6 separate regions of the Homo sapiens genome follow, and regions 2, 3, 4, 5 and 6 are each linked to region 1. Evidence: promoter capture Hi-C in 16 types of primary human blood cells and fetal thymus (Javierre and others, 2016). All regions are on one chromosome and are shown on one strand. The core of a region is centred on a gene start or on the middle of the fragment in contact, and the rest is flanking DNA. Distances in the headings are between cores, read along the strand shown.

Evidence for each region. Contacts are between HindIII fragments. The CHiCAGO score rates a contact against its expected background, and 5 or more counts as called.
Region 2: a contact is called between a fragment that was not itself captured here and the fragment with the promoter of POLM in region 1, in 16 of 17 cell types (M1 macrophages, M0 macrophages, naive CD4 T cells and 13 more). The highest score is 13.3, in M1 macrophages.
Region 3: a fragment that was not itself captured here is called in contact with the fragment with the promoter of POLM in region 1 in 2 of 17 cell types (M2 macrophages and M0 macrophages); the score reaches 5.5 in M2 macrophages.
Region 4: a fragment that was not itself captured here is called in contact with the fragment with the promoter of POLM in region 1 in 15 of 17 cell types (total B cells, neutrophils, M1 macrophages and 12 more); the score reaches 12.9 in total B cells.
Region 5: a contact is called between a fragment that was not itself captured here and the fragment with the promoter of POLM in region 1, in 1 of 17 cell types (M0 macrophages). The highest score is 5.1, in M0 macrophages.
Region 6: a contact is called between a fragment that was not itself captured here and the fragment with the promoter of POLM in region 1, in 1 of 17 cell types (M1 macrophages). The highest score is 5.8, in M1 macrophages.

What each region holds. Positions count from the first base shown.
Region 1 is chr7:44,081,280-44,084,571 of GRCh38, reverse strand. POLM (DNA polymerase mu) reads left to right here and starts at 2,042. Exons shown (of 11, transcript NM_013284.4): 1 at 2,042-2,321. The coding sequence starts at 2,134. RefSeq lists a silencer at 1,477-2,056 and an enhancer at 1,768-2,268. The HindIII fragment of the contact is 8,170 bases long and covers 1-3,292 here.
Region 2 is chr7:44,565,456-44,568,747 of GRCh38, reverse strand. DDX56 (DEAD-box helicase 56) reads left to right here. Exons shown (of 14, transcript NM_019082.4): 12 at 525-630; 13 at 2,224-2,300; 14 at 2,669-2,944. The coding sequence ends at 2,746. Among named protein-coding and RNA genes, the nearest start is that of DDX56, 6.8 kb to the left of the region's middle. RefSeq lists an enhancer at 2,585-3,084 and a silencer at 2,938-3,149. The HindIII fragment of the contact is 3,764 bases long and covers 1-3,292 here.
Region 3 is chr7:44,515,543-44,518,834 of GRCh38, reverse strand. NPC1L1 (NPC1 like intracellular cholesterol transporter 1) reads left to right here. Exons shown (of 19, transcript NM_001101648.2): 15 at 1,478-1,628; 16 at 1,901-2,132; 17 at 2,638-2,751; 18 at 2,870-3,032. Among named protein-coding and RNA genes, the nearest start is that of NPC1L1, 24 kb to the left of the region's middle. The HindIII fragment of the contact is 7,058 bases long and covers 1-3,292 here.
Region 4 is chr7:44,477,743-44,481,034 of GRCh38, reverse strand. All of the region lies in intron 2 of NUDCD3 (NudC domain containing 3), which reads left to right. Among named protein-coding and RNA genes, the nearest start is that of NUDCD3, 11 kb to the left of the region's middle. The HindIII fragment of the contact is 6,664 bases long and covers 1-3,292 here.
Region 5 is chr7:44,444,828-44,448,119 of GRCh38, reverse strand. The region is part of intron 2 of NUDCD3 (NudC domain containing 3); the gene reads left to right. Among named protein-coding and RNA genes, the nearest start is that of NUDCD3, 44 kb to the left of the region's middle. The HindIII fragment of the contact is 4,100 bases long and covers 1-3,292 here.
Region 6 is chr7:44,415,711-44,419,002 of GRCh38, reverse strand. The region is part of intron 3 of NUDCD3 (NudC domain containing 3); the gene reads left to right. Among named protein-coding and RNA genes, the nearest start is that of NUDCD3, 73 kb to the left of the region's middle. The HindIII fragment of the contact is 3,443 bases long and covers 116-3,292 here.

The DNA.
Region 1 (3,292 bases), core at 793-3,292:
TCCTTCAGCCCCATGTTGTCCTAGCAGACACTTTGCAGCAACCACTCAGAGGGCCTGGCTGATTTCTAAGCTAGGCAGTTTCTTCCACTGTCATTTGGATGAGATTCCTTGCACAAACATTTTTGCACAGTTGCCCAGTGTTTTAAGTATTCAGGTCTCATAGTCTTAAAAACTGCCTCTGCCTTCCCAGGAGAGAACAAGGGCTCCAAGGGGAGCCCAGGTGCTCTGGCCAGACAGAGGACATTAAAAGGAACAGAAATGGTTTTAGACAGCTAGAGGGATCTGCTCAGGGGATATTTGGGCAGAGCCTCCTCCTTGAGAAGGGTAGGAGCCAGATCCACAGACGAAGACCCTTAGAGCCTGCCCATCCCTGCTGGCACAAGGGGAGGATGGGGAGAGAGGGACCATACGCAGGCCTCCTGGCTTCTGTATGTGGGTCCTGAGGCCCAGGAAGCTCTACAGCCCTGAAGAGGTAGATGAATTAGGAGGCTGGGAGATGGTGTAGGAGGTCAAGAGGATGCCTGGGCTGAGCCATCTCCCCCACTCCCCTCAGCCCTGTGCTCTGAGTGCAGAGATGGGGAAGAGCCAGCCCACTAAAGATGTCAGAGAGGAGCCAAAGAAAAAGGATAGGTGCTCAAGGAGTCTGGGGCTCAAGACTGAGGACGATGGGGCAGTGATGAGGAGAGGCATGTGGAAGGGGGTTGCATCTGATCTGGTGTCCCATCAGTTAGGCTGAGCAGTGCCACACTACCGTAACAGAGGTTACAAATGGAGTATATCTAAATAAGATAGACAGAAGACTTGATATTATCAAGACATCAGATTTCCCCAGCTTGATCTATAGATTCAATGCAATCCCAATCTTGGGAAAGGAATTGCTGGATCAATGTGTATTATTTTGTTTTCATTTTGTTGGATGTGGTTGCCACATTGGCTTCCACAGTCCTTCCTATGGATTGCCAATTACCTCGCACCTTCAACATGTGTGGTCAATTTTTTTGAATGTTTGATAAACCCACAACTGAAGATATTCTCATTTAGGTATTCTGTAACGACTGGACAGGTTGGGCACTCTGGTCATAAATTTATTGACCAGGATTTCTTCTAAGAATCATCTACGTGAGTTTTTTTGCTAATTTTTCTATTAAATTATTGTCTTTTTATCTATGGACAATTTGATAAGATTATCATGAGATAATCTTAATTCCAAAATATCTCACACTTTATCCCAGTTTATCTTCTGACTCTAATTTTTAATCAGATTTAAAATTTGTCTGTAGTCCAGTTTATCATTCTTTTCCTTTAGTGTTTCCAAGTTTATTGTGATATTTAGATCATAAAAACATTCACCGACTTTTTTCCAGTACGTTGTTGGTTTCCTTTTTAGATGGAAATGTTTGACCCATCTGGAATTTATTTTGGTGTTAAGGAATGAGGAAGGGCACCAACTTCTATTTTTCCAAATGGCCTGCCAGTTGTCCTAATGCCATTCGACTGAAAAATCTTCCCGCGTGTTTGAAGCGACCGCCCCACCAGCGCATTGGAAACCCGCGTGTCGGTCCTGCGCCCGCCGGCTTCCGTGTGACAGTCCCGAGCGCAGAGGGATCGGGCACAGCCCGCACGCGTCCGCCCCGAGCCGCCGGCTCAACCCTAGACCCAGCCCCGGCGCCAAGGACACAGCCCACCCCGCTCCGCCCGGGCCTAGGTCCCAGTTCACCCTCCCTAGCCGGGGACGCCCCCTTGACCCCGCCTCCTCCACCCCCTCCAACACCCTCCCCGCCCCGCTCCAGCCCAGCCTCTCCTCCCGGAGGCCAATGGGGCCGAACAGCGCTTTCCGAGACATTAATTTAAATAAAAGGCGGGTCCTCTGCCGTTATTTGCATGGAGGCGGGTCTTCCGGAGCGGCCGGGACACCCAATCCTGTAGGAGCCCGGACCCTCCCCAGCGCTCCGACTGGCCCAAGTAGCGAGCCCCACGGAGAGGCCTCATTTGCATAGGGCGGGGCCACGTCCTCTTCCAGCCGGCGGCCGCCCGCCCGCCCACCCGCTTCCGTCAGCCTCACTGGGGCTTCCTTCCGTCTCGCTCGGAGTTTCCCTCTGCGTTCGCTCCGCGCTGCTGGAGGCTGTCGTCCCAATGCTCCCCAAACGGCGGCGAGCGCGGGTCGGGTCCCCTAGCGGCGATGCCGCTTCCTCCACGCCGCCCTCGACGCGCTTCCCGGGAGTCGCCATCTACCTGGTCGAGCCTCGCATGGGTCGCAGCCGCCGGGCCTTCCTCACAGGCCTGGCGCGCTCCAAAGGCTTCCGCGTCCTTGACGCCTGCAGGTGCGGGGCGGCGCGGCGCGGCGAGGGCTTCCATGGCACTTCTGGTTTTGGATTCTAAGTTTGCAGTGGCACTTCGTGGTCTTGTGACCTTTCCCTGAGCCTCCATCTCCTCTTCTGTAAAGGGTGCTATTAATTAGGGCGAGGCGTGTTTTAAAGGATCACTGCGAGAATCAAAACCAGAGGTCAGGGGTAATTAATAAGCAGTAGGCCGGGCGCGGTGGCTCACGCCTGTAATCCCAGCACTTTGGGAGGCCGAGGCGGGCAGATCACGAGGTCAGGAGATCGAGACCATCCTGGCTAACACGGTGAAACCCCGTCTCTACTAAAAATACAAAAAATTAACCGGAGGTGGTGGCGGGCACCTGTAGTCCCAGCTACTCGGGAGGCTGAGGCAGGAGAATGGCATGAACCTGGGAGGCGGAGCTTGCAGTGAGCCGAGATCGCGCCACTGCACTCCAGCCTGGGCGACAGAGTGAGACTCTGTCTCAAAAAAAAAAAAAAAAAAAGTCGTATTTGCTAACAGCCCTTCTGCCTGGGCTATGTCCCACCTGTGAGCGAGACTGACTTCTCAAGAGGCCCGGAGCCCGCAGGCTCCTCTGTCCTCAGGCCTGAGTAAATAACACGACTGAGAAGCTCTTGTAGGAAGGGAACCAAGAGAAGAAAAAATGGCGGCTACAGAGACAACACCCAGAGTAAGGGAGCTGGGGGTGCCCCCTAGTTTGGAGGTTGAGAGAGCAAACGAACCTGGGGCTAGTATTCCCCCACAGTTGTGTTTGATTTTTTAACATTACCAGGGATCAGTAGTGCGCCAGACCCACTCAGGAGAGGATGATAGCAGCTTAGAGTGTACAAGGCACTATCTTTGTACAACAACCCCACAGGGTGGATATGTTATCTCTGCTTTACAGAAGAGGAAATCAAAGTATAGACACGTGGCTTGCCCAAGAGCCAAACAAGTATGTGGCAGGCAG
Region 2 (3,292 bases), core at 474-2,973, 480 kb before region 1:
CAGTCTGTTCTGCTTGGTGGTAAATTGGCACAACCTTATGGTGGACACTGTCCAGCAGAATTACGAGCTCATGTGTCCTTTCATCCGAAATTCCACTTCTGGAACTTAATCCTGGTCACGCTTGTGAATGTGCACAGTCAAGCATGTGCCTGCATTCATCCATCCATGGCATTATCATGGAACCAAAAGATGGAAACAGCCTGGGGCCACCATAGGGGGCTTGCTAGGTAAACTCAGGTGCATTCAGAGCCGAAGGTTACATGGGAAGGAATGAGGTTGGTTGCGTGTCCATATGGAACAGTCTGTAAGATGATGCCCAGCAAAAAGGGGTACAGGGTACTGCCATGTGTGTCATGGAGAAGGGAAAATGGAAACATCCACTCCCGGGAGGTTCTGAGAAATGCACAGAAGCAGCTGCCTCATGCCTTTTGAAACACATGAGTGTGTTATCCTTTGAAAAGCTAGGTCTGTGAAGTCACAGAAGAAAGATGCTCACTCTGTGGCTCTCCCTCTTCCCCCGGCAGACATACTTTGAAGACAACCCTAGGGACCTCCAGCTGCTGCGGCATGACCTACCTTTGCACCCCGCAGTGGTGAAGCCCCACCTGGGCCATGTTCCTGACTACCTGGGTGAGTGTGGCCTGACAGGGCAGGAGGCAGCAGGCTGGGGAAGTGGCATTAATTTCTCCACTGCTGGGTCAGCCCCTGTGCTTGGTGCTGGGGATGCTCAGGCAGAATAGAACCTGGAGACCCTGGCAGCACGCGGGCATGTAAACAGGCACACCCCTGTGTTTCTAAACTTGTTTGCTTGGTCCCACGGGTTAGCTGTTGCTGTCTCCATTTTAGAGATGAGGAAATTGAGGTAGTGCAGGGTGGGTGGCAGACCCAGCATTTCAGGCCAGGTCGTCTCCAGAGCTGGGCCAAATGGCCATCCATGGGTCGAAGGGAGTGAACAGGTTTGGGAGAGAGTCACGGGCAGGAGGCAGAGAGAGCCACCTGTGCTGCAAAAGACTCAAGATTAGCAGCTGCTGAAGAGGCATCTGTGGAGTCTCTGGGTAAGAACAGTCAGCAGGGAGACAGACTCTGTAAGGCCTAAACCGACAAGGTAGCAAGAGAAGAGCCAGTGGTGGTGCGAGGGATGCAGGGGTTGGCAGGCATGAGGTCAGGACCCTGGGATTGGTTTCTGTAGTGCAGCCCAGGCTAGAGCTTTATGTGGCCATTAATACTGGGCACCTCTCCTCATCTTTGGCAGGCTCTGGGTAATGACTTCTTTCAGTGTCTCATAGGAGGTGTTTTTGGTAATGAGTATGTGTGACTTTTATGCCTAAAATGGATTGAAGGAGGAGAGTGGTGGAGAGGAGGCTGTGGGCAGCAAGTGCAGGACCCTTCCCAATGCCACAGGGTCTGCTCAGCCTGGACCTGCAGCCACCCAGCGGGTGTGGTGTTGCTGCTATGGAGGTGACAAAGGGTGGAGATGGAATGTTCCAGGGCAGGAAAAGCCTGGGCACTGGGAAAGGAAGGATCCAGAAGAGATGGGAACATGAAAATGCCAGAGAGAGCGGTGGGGGCCGGGTTCCCATGGGACAGTGAGCTGGAGGAGACCCCAGTCCAGGTCCTGGCCTGAGATGTGAGGAGGGGAGTTGGGAGGGTGGGTAGGGAGGGAGAAGGTAAGGCTAGAACTTTGGCCTCAGGAACCCAGTCTGCTCGTATAGCGGAGTCATTTGCCAAGGTGTGGCCAGGAGGTTTAGAAGGGCCAGGAGAAGGTGGAAAGGTGTCAGGATGTGGGATGTTTGACATTTGAAGGGGAGGGCCCAGGTGTGGTTGGCCTGGGGGAGTCCATGGGGTGGGCGAGGTGAAGATAGAGCCAAGATCAGGTGCAGCTGGGATGCGGGGCCCCCTGTATCGGTAGTAATGGGCCACAGGTGAAGAAACTACCTGTTGACTTTTATTTCAGCTGCATTTTCTTTCTTTAAGGATGTCTGTCTTTTTCTTTCTTGTTACATGTTTGTTGTAACAAATCTAAACAATATAGGAGAGTGATTTAAATAGTGGAAGTCTAAGGTGCTCACATTCTCCTGGCCCTGTGCAGATGTGGTAGTGAATAGATGTATGTCATAGGCTGCCAGTTGGGTCAGAATTGGAGAATTTGCTGCAGAATCAGCGGGAGGGCAGGGATGGGAGCAGTAGCGGTGAGCCCACTGCTCAGGCAAGCATCTCTTCCAGTTCCTCCTGCTCTCCGTGGCCTGGTGCGCCCTCACAAGAAGCGGAAGAAGCTGTCTTCCTCTTGTAGGAAGGCCAAGGTACGGCTCCTGGGGACTGCGGACAGCCCCAGGACTCCTCCCAACCTGCTCTTTTGTCATCACCAGAATGTGGAGGCGCCTTGCCCTAGGGAGGGGAAGAGAGGGTGCCCTAGGGAGGGGAAGAGGGGGCACCCTAGAACCGGGCCCCAAAAATCTGGTGTGGGATAGGGGTACTTTTGCAGCCGCCTGCAGGCCCTGCTTTTCTTTCCCCAGCTGCCTTTCCCCATTTCCTTATCTGCAGCACCTTCTGGTCGTGTTGGCCAGTTGCCGGCACGGCTCCCTTTGTGTCTTTCTCAGTTGGGTGGGTGGGTGGGTGGATTGTCTGTCGGCCTGATTCCCCCAACTAACCTGTGACTTTGCCTCCTTAGAGAGCAAAGTCCCAGAACCCACTGCGCAGCTTCAAGCACAAAGGAAAGAAATTCAGACCCACAGCCAAGCCCTCCTGAGGTTGTTGGGCCTCTCTGGAGCTGAGCACATTGTGGAGCACAGGCTTACACCCTTCGTGGACAGGCGAGGCTCTGGTGCTTACTGCACAGCCTGAACAGACAGTTCTGGGGCCGGCAGTGCTGGGCCCTTTAGCTCCTTGGCACTTCCAAGCTGGCATCTTGCCCCTTGACAACAGAATAAAAATTTTAGCTGCCCCAGTTTGTGCCTCCAGCATATGAAAAGGACTATTTGAATCCCCAAAACATCAGGAGTCGGGAAACTTCGGAAGACAGCTGTGCCTGGCTCTGTGGCTGCATGCAGTGCTTCACTTGGCCAGCAGAGGTCAGCTGTGCCGAGCTGCCCCAGCCATGAGAAGAGAAGCCTGCCCTTGCTGGCAGGTGGCTATGGCCGGCCCAGAGCCTTCCTGCCCAGCTCCTGCAGCCCTGCTGCCTGGGATCAGGCTGGGAGATGGGCCTTCCTGACCGCCAGCCTTCCTCTCCCCGAGCACACGCACATGTAGATTCGGGGGGAAGCTGCCTGCTCTTCCTTAGAGGAGCCGGGGCAGC
Region 3 (3,292 bases), core at 256-2,755, 430 kb before region 1:
AGAGGCCTGGTGGGAAGTTCTCCAGGCACCTCCCCTGCTCTGAGATTGTATGTATCCAAGAACATTTCTCTTCTTTTTTCTCCACACCTATGTAGCACTATTGTTTCTTTTTCAGATACACATGCTCACTGTACACAATAAAGAAATAACTTTTTTTTTTTTTTTGAGACACAGTTGCCATTCTGTCACCCAGGCTGGAGTACAGTGGCACAATCTCGGCTCACTGCAACCTCTACCTCCTGGATTCAAGTAATTCTCCTGCCTCAGCCTCCCTAGTAGCTGGGATTACAGGCACATGCCACTATGCTCAGCTAATTTTTGTATTATTAATAGAGGCAGAGTGTCGCCAAGAAACAACCTTTTTGGGCCAGGTGCGGTGGCTCACACCTGTAATCCCAGCAGTTTGGGAGACCGAGGCCGGCGAATCACTTGAGGTCAGGAGTTTGAGACCAGCCTGGCCAACATGGTGAAACCCTGTCTCTACTAAAAATACAAAAATTAGCCAGGCATGGTGGCATGCACCTGTAATCCCAGCTACTTGGGAGGCTGAGGCAGGACAATCACTTGAACCCGGGAAGCAGAAGTTGCAGTGAGCCAAGATCGCACCACTGCACTCCAGCTGCGGTGACAGTGAGACTCTGTCTCGAAAACAAAAACAAGAACAAAAAACCCTTTATTGTATAAAGGTCTTAATAACCTTAATTTCTTCTTTTTTTTTTTTGAGATGGGATCTTGCTCTGTTGCCCAGCTGGAGTGCAGTAGCATGATCTCAGCTCACTGCAGCCTCTGCCTCCTGAGTTCAAGAATTCTCCTGCCTCAGCCCCCCAAGTAGCTGGGATTACAGGGGTGTGCCACCACGCCTGGCTAATTTTTGCATTTTTAGTAGAGACAGGGTTTCACCATGTTGGGCAGGCTGGTCTTGAACTCCTGACCTCAGGTGATCGACCTGCCTTAGCCTTCCAAAGTGCTGGGATTACAGGCATGAGCCACCACACCCGGCCAATAACCTTAATTTCTTAAAAGTCATTAAGAAATAACCTTTATCTGGCAGGAGCCCTAAGCCACAGCTCTAATAATCCAACCGTTCTCATTTTTCTGTCTTCCTTTCTAGTCCTTTCCTATAGGAATATGCAAATTAAAAACCAATTAAGTTAATTTTAAAAATCCAATGCATATCTTGAAACCATACAGAGAAGAATCTCGGTTCACTAGGGAGATCTCTGTAGGCTTCACTCATCAAAGGTCAGGCCTGGGTCTCCCACAGCAGTGGGGCCAGCTATGGAGTTTGCAGGGCTGGTGCAAAACAAAAATATGGGCCTCTTGCACAAAATTTACTAAGAATTTCAAATGGTGGTGGCAGAGCCCTGAACCCCGCTTGATCACATGCCTGTGCCACTGCGTCTGCGGTGTTCTGAAGTTGTCCTGGAAAGGGCTCTGACCTTTGCCCTTCCATCTTCTGTGTGCCATGGCTGTCCAGCCTCCAGGTTCATGGCCTATCACAAGCCCCTGAAAAACTCACAGGATTACACAGAAGCTCTGCGGGCAGCTCGAGAGCTGGCAGCCAACATCACTGCTGACCTGCGGAAAGTGCCTGGAACAGACCCGGCTTTTGAGGTCTTCCCCTACACGTGAGGACCTGAGTGGCTGGGCTGGAGGGAGGTGGGGTATGGTTGCTGGAGACTGGAGGTTAGGGTGGAGGGCTTGCAAGGAGTTGCATGAGATGAGGACCAGTTTTAGGTCAGGAGGCTCTGGCTGCAGCCTTGGGCCTATTTCTTAGGCTGGTTTGTACCCCAATATAAGCCTGCCTGACCCTCAGCATTCTCCTTCTGAAGTGGGGTGTCCCACCCACCATGAGGGCCCCAGAGGCCTGAGCCTGTGACCATGCTCTGTGCTCTGGCAGGATCACCAATGTGTTTTATGAGCAGTACCTGACCATCCTCCCTGAGGGGCTCTTCATGCTCAGCCTCTGCCTTGTGCCCACCTTCGCTGTCTCCTGCCTCCTGCTGGGCCTGGACCTGCGCTCCGGCCTCCTCAACCTGCTCTCCATTGTCATGATCCTCGTGGACACTGTCGGCTTCATGGCCCTGTGGGGCATCAGTTACAATGCTGTGTCCCTCATCAACCTGGTCTCGGTAACCCAGCAGACACAGGCACCAGGGGGCCTCTGGAGGGGTGGTTGGGGATCCAGCCTCATAGAATACTCCTAGTTCTTTTTTGTTTCTTTTTTTAGAGGCAGGGTCTTGCTCTGTTGCTCAGGCTTGAGGGCAGTGACATGATCACAGCTCACTGTAGCCTCGAACCCTTGGGCTCAAGCGATCCTCCTACCTCAGCCTCCAAAGTAGCCAGGACTACAGGCACGTGCCACTGCGTCCAGCTAATATTTTAATTTTTGTTGTAGAGACAGGGTCTCACTTTGTTGCCCAGGCTGGTCTCAAACTCCTGGGCTCAAGTGATCCTCTCACCTCGGCCTCCCAAAGTGTTGGGATTATAGGCATGAGCCACTGCACCCGGCCAAATACTCCCAGTTCTGTCTAGAATCTAGATGCCTGCCCCACGCTGGTCCTGGTGGAGGCCTCATCTCCCTAGTTCCTTCCCCACCTCTGCCTTTCTTGGCTTATGCCCCCTCTCTGCCCATAGGCGGTGGGCATGTCTGTGGAGTTTGTGTCCCACATTACCCGCTCCTTTGCCATCAGCACCAAGCCCACCTGGCTGGAGAGGGCCAAAGAGGCCACCATCTCTATGGGAAGTGCGGTGAGTGGAGAGGAGTGGGCCACCCTGTGCCCCACTCGACACCCTGTGCCCTGCCTGATGCCCTGTGCCCTGCCTGATGCCCTGTGCCCTGCCTGACACCTGGCTCTGAACCCCCCAGGTGTTTGCAGGTGTGGCCATGACCAACCTGCCTGGCATCCTTGTCCTGGGCCTCGCCAAGGCCCAGCTCATTCAGATCTTCTTCTTCCGCCTCAACCTCCTGATCACTCTGCTGGGCCTGCTGCATGGCTTGGTCTTCCTGCCCGTCATCCTCAGCTACGTGGGTGAGTGCCCAGGCCTGTTCCTACCAGACTGTCATGATTATGCTGACGACAACAGTAACAGTGCATGCTCACCACAAAAGCTCAGGAAGTGCAAACGAGCCATGGGCAGATGTCAGAAGCCAGGACTATGACCATGTGGCAATTCTGTCTTGGAAGCTACTATTATTCATTTAATGTGCTGTGAACATCTTTTTTTGTCAGCTATGTATGTCTCAAACAACGTTTCTGTGGCCCTGTACACTGTGGATCTTCACTGCACT
Region 4 (3,292 bases), core at 530-3,029, 400 kb before region 1:
ACAAGAAGTTTGTACATGTTCAGCACAGACAAAACAATCCATTTTTTTTTTTTTTCAAATTTTTGGATTTTTTTTTTTTTTTTTTTTTTTTTTGATACTGGGTCTTGCTCTGTTGCCCATACTGGAATGCAGTGACATGATCTTGGCTCACTGCAGCCTCTGCCTTCTGAGCTCAAGCGAGCCTCCCACCTCAGCCTCCCAAGTAGCTGGGACTACAGGCGTGCACCACCTTGCCCAGCTGATTTTTGTATTTTTTGTAGAGATAGGGTCTTACCATGTTGCCCAGGCTGGTGTCGAACTGGTGAGCTCAAGTGATCCACTCGCCTCAGCCTCGTAAAGTGCTGGGATTATAGGTGTGAGGCACCATGCCTGGCCATTTTTTGGGAATATTTTTGATCCTCAGCAAATATTTTGGTAAATATTTTTTGGGAATATTTTGATTTGGGCTATGGAACCCATGGATAGCGAGGGCTGACTATATCTGCTGCTTCTGTTTCTTTGGTGGAACCTTGACTTATACAGATATTTTCATGATATAATGTTAAGTGAGAAGGGGAGAATTCAAACTATATAGTCTAATATCAAATTTGAAAACTTTAAAAATTATGTATGTAGAAAAAAAGCTGGAAGAAAATAGTAGTAGTAATCACAGAGTGGTGGAATTGTGAGTGTTCTTCATTTTTATCTTTGTCCCTTACTATATTTTCTAATTTTTCTGTAATGACCATTTATTTTGTTTTATTAATTTTTTTGTATTCCTTTTATGATCTCTAAAAAATGAAAGGAGGGTATTGGTTTTGATTTCTGAGTAATAGACTAGAATAGCTACTTTGTTGTTTTGTAGAGACCCTATTTTAAAATTCTTGAACCAGTGAATTTTGTTCTGGGTTAGAATTAGAGTTAGTTTTGTGAGTTCTACCTTAAAAATAAGTATAGAGTGAAGACTTGGATATGTTTCAGGAAAGCTAACCTTTCTACTTGGTAGCTCTTTGTTCAGAATAGACTGGTACCGCAAGAATCCTAATCAAACCTTTCCAAGGACTGGAACATTCTCAGCTTCAGTTACTTGTTTTCCTTGAACAAAACAGGAAGTTGTGGCACCGATCTCTAGTTATACCTGAAATGTAGTGTTTTAGCAGATTTGAAAATAGAATGTGAAAGACCATCCTTTTCCTTGTTCTACCTTTAGCTGCACCCCAAGTCCTCCCACCAGTGTTCAGGATGGTTTATCCTATAAATTATAGATCTGCAGTTCTTTTAATTGAGTAATTTAAGGTAGTTATTCTGTAGAAGACCACACAGAAGCACCATCTTTTGTGAGCACTCTGTCTAAAATCTGAGAATCTAAGTCTTAGATTGCTGATATCTGATGACTCTTACTTGACATGTTTTTCGGTTCTAACCAGTATTAGGCAAAAACTCCCTTTTTGTATACTACAGTAAAGTCACATCACATGCTTATTTAATTTAAATAAATTCAGTGTAAGTGCTGGGAAAGAAAGAAACAAGATTAAAAATAATGTATTTATATTTTGTATATATGTATTTTGAATTTTATTTTTTTAGAGACAGGATCTTGCTGTGTTTTTCAGGCTGAACTCGAACTTCTGGGCTCAAGTACTCCTCCTGCCTCTATATATGCATTTTTGTTGTAAGGTGTTCATTACTGTATACAGACAATTGTTTTGTGTTTTAGTAAAGTATAATTTATGTAACAATACAATTCATTCCTTTTAGAATACAGTTTATGACTTTGGACAAATGTAGTCTTGTAACCACCACAGTCAAGATAGATGACCAGTATGGTTTGGCTGTGTCCCCACCCAAATCTCATCTTGAATTGCAGTTCCCATAATCCTCACATGTCATGGGAGGGACCCGGTGGGAGGCAGTGAATCATGGGGGCAGTTATATCCATGTGGTTCTCGTGATAGTGAGTTCTCATAGACGGTTTTATAAGGGACTTTTCCCGCTTTGCTTGGCACGTCTTCCTGCTGGTATGTGAAGAAGGATGTGTTTACTTCCCCTTCTGTCATGATTGTAAGTTTTCTGAGGCCTCCCCAGCCATGCTGAACTGCGAGTCAATTAAACCTCTTTTCTTTATAAATTACCCCATCTTGGGTATGTCCTTATAGCAGCATGAGAATGGACTAATACAATGACATTTCCATTGGTGCCAGACTCCCAGATCCTGGCAACCTTGTGCCTGTGTTCTGCCCTAAAGCTGTTGCAGCATACATTGTTATTTATACATAATAATGTACAGGTTTCATTTATAGTATTTTTGGGGTGATTTGGGGGAAATTTTATTTTGACCTAATTTTACCATCACTCTGATTTTAGCATCTCCCTGACTAATAACCTACAATTGGTCTGAATTTCATTCTTGTTTCTGCCCTACTGTTGCTGCCAGGGCATGTCAAATGAAGATCAGAAATGCCCCCACCCCAGGGCTTAAAGGAACCTATCTTTTTCTTTTTTTAGACGGAGTTTTGCTCTTGTTGCCCAGGCTGGAGTGCAATGGCATGATCTCGGCTTACTGCAACTTCCACCTCCCAGGTTCAAGCGATTCTCCTGCCTTAGCCTTGCAAGTAGCTGGGAGTGCAGGTGCCTGCCACCATGCCTGGCTAATTTTTGTATTTTTTTAGTAGAGACAGGGTTTCACCATGTTGGCCATACTGGTCTGAAACTCCTGACCTTGGGTGATCCACCCATCTCGGTCTCCCAAAGTGCTGGAATTACAGGCGTGAGCCACCGCGCCCGGCCCAAAGTAAATAACCCATCTTATTCCTCAGAGAAGAGAGAGAATTTGCACACAGATATTTCCCTATTTGCACAAGATAGCATCAGAGAATGTGCTTATATTCTGTAAGGATGCTTTACAATTTTAATAGTTGTTCAGGCTGGGTGTGGTGGCTCATGCCTGTAATCTCAGCACTGTTAGAGGCCGAGGCCGGCTGATCATTTGAAGTCAGGAGTTTGAGACAAGCCTCACCAACATGGTGAAACTCTGTCTCTATAAAAATACAAAAAATTAACCAGGTGTGGTGGTGCGTGCCTGTAATCTCAGCTACACAGGAGGCTGAGGCAGCAGAATTGCATGAACCCGGGAGGTGGAGGTTGCAGTGAGTTGAGATTGTGCCACTGCACTCCAGCCTGGGCGACAGAGCAGAGCGAGACTCCATCTAAAAAAAAAAAAAAAAAAAAAAAAAGAATTGTTCATAGTAAAGACTTTGTAAAAAGTGAAAAAGTGCCATTTGAGCCTCAGTGTTTATGTAATACTAGACTGGGT
Region 5 (3,292 bases), core at 401-2,900, 360 kb before region 1:
CATGCCAGTGAGTATCAGGAAGCTGAGTACTCTGTGGGGAAGCCTATGTTCAGCTACCAAGTGTGGTGGGTGCAGGCGGCGGCCTGACAGGTGCATTACAGCCTGAAGAACTGGGGTGAGGCCAGAATTTGGCTCAGCCACTTAGGGTATGTGACTATAGACCATTCCTTTAGCCTCTGGGAGCCTCCATTTCCCAGAGATGACAATTTCCAAGGGTGTGGTCAATTCTGTGTGCAATCCTGTGTGGCCAGACAGAGGTGCCCCTTGCTGATGGCCTGTCCCTTTTTCTTATTCCCTTCTAATTGATGTCATATGTCTCTTGTCTTCATGTGAACTTGATATCACCTAAGATCCATGGCTTTGAGGAAGGCTAATGCAAGGATGGTGTTTCAGTTCATTTGGGCTGCTGTAACAGAATACTTGAGAGCAGGTGTTTATACAAAATTTTATTTTCCTACAGTTCTGGAGGCTGGAAAATCCAAGATCAAGGCTCTGGCAGGTTCAGTTGTCAAGTGAGGGCTCTCTGCTTCTAAGATGGGCCTGATGCTGTGTCCTTTGGAGGGGTGGAATGCTGTGTCCTCACGTGGTGACAGGGACAGAAGGGGAAGAGAGCTGGATGCTGCGTGAAGCCTGTTTAATAAATGCCTTAATCTAGTCATAGGGGAGGAGCCCTCATAACCTAATCACTTCTTAATACCGTCACATTGGCCATTAAGTTTCCACACCTGAATTTTGGAGGAGACACATTCAAACCATAGTAGATGGGAAACATACGGAAACTTTCTACAGAAGACCTTCGTTACAGTGTTTGTTGGCCTGGGGCAGGCTACTCAGGCTCGTCACTTAAAGAATTATTTTTATTGTCTTCCTCTGGAGACTTTTGGTTTTGTCAGGTGAACGTTGTGGCTGTCAAACTTGCACGGACCATCCCATGCTGAGATGGGACTTCAATAAGTGCGTTAACAGATAGGTATCAGGTCTTCTTCTCCTACCAGGCCTGCCCCTAGGGAATGAAATGGCCTCATGGCGAAGCATCTCTTGGTTAAGGCTCTTCTAAGGCAAGAACTAATTGCTTTTCCTTGGCAGCCCAAGTAAATGTTCTCTGTGAGAAATGACTTTCTGACATTTGTTTCATTGTGGCTGTACTTACCAAAAAACTTTTATATAATTCACTACAGAGAATTCTCAAATGAATGTAATGAACATTGCCAGAAACTGGGCTGGATTTCTGAGGCATTGTTTTACTTACTTATTTTTTGGATTTTCAGTCAAATCATATAATCATGTTTGATGGAGTATCTAGTTCTGCCAGTTAAAAGGGTAATAGTATGGGGATTGCTAATTTACACATTAGTCAAAAATACTCCTTTGAAACACTTTTTAAGGGAGGCAATAAGAAGTGACTATTATGGCTTGAAGTGAGATACGCAGACAGCCCCCTACCCAAATGTCAGATGTAAACTAACAAAGCATGGTCACACCCTGGGCATTGGAAGGACCTGGTTGGCCAGCCTGGGGCCTAGGTTTTGGGGCATCCCTGCCAGCCATCCAGCCACCCTCAGAGCAGGCGTGCCTGGAGGATCTTGGCCCATTTATATGCAGAAGAGGATCAAATTGGCTAACACCAAGGCTTTATAAATAGTAGGACTGTTTCTCCAGCCTGTCTTCATTCTGTTCACAGCTAAAATTTCCTGGCAGCTTGTAACTAATGAGAACGGAAAAGTACTGTTTGCAGAGATTTCAGCTAGCTGACTTGAATGCTCCCATGATGCTTTGTCACTGATTGTTGTACTTACTGCTCTCTGGGGTGGCCATTCCCTTCCAAGTTGAGCTGGGTCTCAGGTAATGAAAACAGCAACTCTTTGACCAAGACCCTAAGATGGTCACAAGGAAAGCCCATTTTGTCCTCATGAGAGTATGACTACACACAGGCTCTCTGGCTGAGAACTGTGACACCCAGAGGTCACAGGCTTGGCTAAGGATGTCTATAGGACTTGAATAGTCCAGCCTCATGTGTCAATTGGGGATAATGTTTGGACTGGCATAGACCCATAGGTAAGTGTGCAGTAATGTCAGCTACAGCTAATAGGTTGTCTTACCTGAGCTCTGCACTACTTCTGCAATGGAAGTGTTGTTTCCCTGACTTTACTGATGAGCAAAGCGGAGGCTTAGAGACACAAGGTTGTATCACCAACTAGTGGCTGGGCAGGGATTTTTGACTCCAGAGTCTGTGTCCTTAAGTACTGGTTTCGGTTCTCCTTTATCTGGAATTCTTGAAAGATGTACCTTGCATTAATCAAATCAGACACGTAAAACCTCTTTGCCTTGGTTTTTCACTTTCTCATTAGAGAACTCATTGCTTCATAGAGCTTTACATCAGCTGAAAGTTGTCGTAACGGATTTCCATGCAGTGTGTGTGACTGTTTGTGTTGTGTTCATTTCTGTCTAGATACACCTTCCACTGTGCACACCTGTGTGCACACACACAACCCACCCCTCCTCCCCTCCAAAAACAAAACAAACAGGAAAAAGACCAAAAACAGTCATTGCGGATGTGGAGCAACCTGCAGAGACCTTGTGAGGCAGATGACATTGGAGGTCAGCAGTTGAGAAGGGGCAAGCACCTGGTCAGAGGGAGGAACCTGTGCAAAGAAATGATACCATTAAAGGGATGCTGATATTCCTGTGTTCCTAGGGGAAGGGAGTGAACAGGGATGGGGCTGGCAGGGACCACACTGTGCATGTCTCTGCCCTGCCAAGACCCTGATTCATGCTAAAGAATTGGGGCTTATCTTTAGAAACTGGGGCAACTTATCTAACTCAAGAGTGTTTGCTCAGATTTGTCAGAAAGTTAATAGGCAGCAGTCAGTCAGGGTGGACAAGGTAGGGGATGTAGAAAGGATACATACCAGGCAGCTGTTGCAGTTCAGGGGTGCATGTGCGGAAGATATAGAGATAGCACTGTGTTCTTTGGAGTGTAAGGGGCAGGCAGCAGGAAGGGTCAGCCAAAGGAAACCAGTGAGTTGGAGGAGAGGGAGAACAGGTGGAGGTGGAGCAGAGGGAGAGCCTGGGTAGTCCAAGGGTGGGACATTCATGTCAGATGTTGTGGAGGTATCAGATGGACAGAAATTCAGAAAGGCAAGTTTGGTTATGATACTTGGAAGTCATTTGTGATTGGCAGAGATTTCACAGTGGGGCATATTGGAAGGTAAGGTGGGAAGAAACTGACTCAAGATGTTTCGCTGGGAATAAAAGGAAGAAGGCAGCAGCCTGAACAGAAGGCTGGTTGAAA
Region 6 (3,292 bases), core at 588-3,087, 330 kb before region 1:
CTCAGTGTCTGCCCAAACAGCCTCCCAGTTTTGTGCTTGAAACCCAGGGCCCTGGTGGTGTAGGCACACGAGGGAATCTCCTGATCTGCAGATTGCAAGAACCTTGGGAAAAGCTTAGTATCTGGGCTGGATAACACAGTTCTTCACAGCTTCCTTGGCTGGGAAAGGGAGGCCCCCTGCTCCTTGCACTTCCCAGGTGAGGTGACGTCCCACCCTGCTTCTGCTCACCCTCTGTGGGCTGCACCCGCTGCCTAACTAGTCCCAATGAGATGAACAGGGTACCTCAGTTGGAAATGCAGAAATCACCCACCTTCTGCGTTGGTCTCACTGGGAGCTGCAGACCAGAGCTATTCCTATTCAGCTGTCTTGCCAGATCCCCCCATATCATTCATTCTATTTCATAGATGAGAAATTGAGGCTGAGAGAAGTTACTGAATCATCCAAGTTAACTTGGAAAATCCACAGTGTCATCTCCCTTGTTGTTATGCCTGGAACAGTGAGCACTCTGGATAAGTTTTTGAATGAATGAATAGCTGCATGAATGAAGTAGCAAAGCTGTGGTTTGAGTCAGGTGTGTCTGCTTCTAAACCTTATGCTTTTCCCTCTGTGCCACCCTCCTTACTCTATACATACAAGTGGTGCTGGCTTCTTAGAAGGAGAGACTGTCCTGGAACACGTCTCATGTGCATTTATAGGAAATGAACCTCTCTGTATGGTGGGGGCAACTTGGCTTGCACCTTGCATCCCACATGGTGACAGTAAGGTGACTAGGCTTAGTCCCATTCCTGCCTCGGCTGGGTAGGTGTGAAGTCCAGGCTGGCCTGGAGCTGAGTCCCTCTGGCCCTCCTGTCCTGTGCCTTCCGACTCCATGACCACTCCCTCTGCAGTCTCTCCTTCATTCTCCAGGGGCCACTTGAAATAGGTAGACATGTCCTAAACCTGCCCTGTGTGTAGGAGTTTGGGTGGGGTCCATGGCATCCCTAAGAAGACTGAGACTTTTGCAAGTGCCCTGTGCCTTTAAGGTACCACAGGCACAGATCAGTGAGTTGCTGGTGGCCTGGCTTCGGCAGCAAGTAGCTGTGTGCTCAATTTTCCCTTCTTCCCACCCCACATCCCCAGTATATCTCTTACCAGCAACTGGTGACCTCTAGAATCATAGACTTCAGTATAATTTTAAGATCAAAGTCAGACCAGATCACTAGGGATCATCCACACGGAATTCTATTTTCAAATGACTACTTCCTGTCTGTTTTTAATAGGCCAGGAGCAGGAGCTAATAGCTCTTCCCAAGTAGTTTATCCAGAATTTTGGGGTTTTAGTGGGTTAGGTGTTGATTTCCATTTCATTTTTTGTTAGTATTGCCGTGTATGTAGTTGAATAAATTAGGAAAAGCATCGATTGCCATGCTTCATTCACTTGGCTAAAAAAAATTTACAGTTTCCTGGTCCTTTATCTGTCTTCTGAACTGCTCTATGAACCCCTGGGGCTTTCTCTGAAAGGGTTTGTATTAGGCCCAAGCTAAAACTGGTTATTTTCTCTTTTTTTGACTCAAGAGACCCAGGTTAGCTAACAGCTTTCACCATACTTTGCACAGCTACCTGGGACAACTCCCCACTGGAAATGGTGTCTCAGATATGCTTGTTGACTATCTGGGATGTTGATGCCATGATTCTTCCCTGTGGTCGGCACCGTGTTATGAGGGTCCTGCCCTGATGTCTTGTCTGAAGTTCAGATTTACACCTCTCTCAAATGCACTTATCATGACCTCTAAGATGATGTGGCTCTACTATCACCAAGGATAACCCTGGATTTGGCTCATTCTACATTAGACGTTTTCTAAACGTGTGGGCTGTGCTTTGTCCCAGGAACTGGGCATGTGGGAGTCACCAAGACAGACAAGATTGCTGGTTTGGAGCTTATATCCCAGTGGGGTACAGCAGTAAAAGTCAGTAAATAAATGAGCAAGATGGAGGCAGGTGCCGTATAGAACCTAAAAGTGGGTGGTTTGTGTATTTAACCAGCACTCGTGTGGTGCCCTCTCTGTGTCTTGAAATAGTGAGTTGTCCCCCCCAGTCCTCCTATCATGCAGGCAGTCGCTGTGCACCCATGAGGGCTACTGAGAGCTGTGTGTGCATGGTCTCAGCCAATAAGAGCCAGGTCACAATCAAGGCTTGCTCTGGAGCTAGTGCTCTCTCTCACCTCAGAGAAGGGTCGAAGGTGAAGTTTGGTTATAAGTATCAGGATAGAAGGATGGAAGGAAGGGACTTCTTTTTTCAGTGGCTTATTTAATAGTGGCTTGCCTTATTTATTTATTAACACGGTATATCTATGTGACAATAGGCCTTTTGTGATGCTCGCTGACCTAATTTGTACTGGTGACCTGCCTTGGTGGCATGCTTCATCTCCTATGGGGTTGGAAAAACTTTTTTCTCCTTCAATAGTATTTTTTTTCCCCATGTCATTCTTACAACACTGCAGACCTCTTATTTTTTTTATTTTTTATTTTTTTTTGATTTGGAGTCTCGCTGTGTCACCCAGGCTAGAGTGCGGTGGCGCCATCTTGGCTCACTGCAACCTCCGACTTCCTAACTGCAGACCTCTTTTAAAAATTCTTGGCTTGGCATGGTGGCTCAAGCCTGTAATCCCAGCACTTTGGGAGGCTGAGGTGGGCAGATTGCTTGAGCCCAGGAATTTGAGACCAGCCTGGGCATCATGGTGAAAGCCCATCTCTACAAAACAGCACAAAAAAAATTTAGCTGGGGATGGTGGCACGCTGCTGTAGTCCTAGCTACTTGGGAGGCAGAGGTGGGAGGATTACCTGAGCCCAGGAGGTCAAGGCTTCTGCGAACTGTGATTGTGCCACTGCACTCCACCTTGGGCAACAGAGTAAGACCCTATCTCAAAAAATAAATAAAATAAAGTAAAAATAAAAATTCTTGGTCTCTTAATTGCTGAATGATTTTTTTTTTAGTCGTACCTCACTTAAAACTTTGGAAAAAGTTTATTTTGTATCTCTTGGATTTTGCTTGTCTAAGTGTTTTTCTTCAGAGCTGTACTTTCTTTCTGGCCTGGCCAGTTATTCCCTAAGTCTACCTGTCACGGTTGCCTGTCAGCAGTGTTTATTTTTGTTTTTTGTCTGTGGCACCTATGGGACATTGTCACGATGGTAACCCCGGCTGCAACAACTCAACTGATAAAATCAGAATCTGTTCTGGGTTGGTGATTCAGGGGCTTTGCTTAGGCAGCCCAGTGTTTGTGTTGGGGCTGTGGATAGAGCTTCACAGGAGAGCCA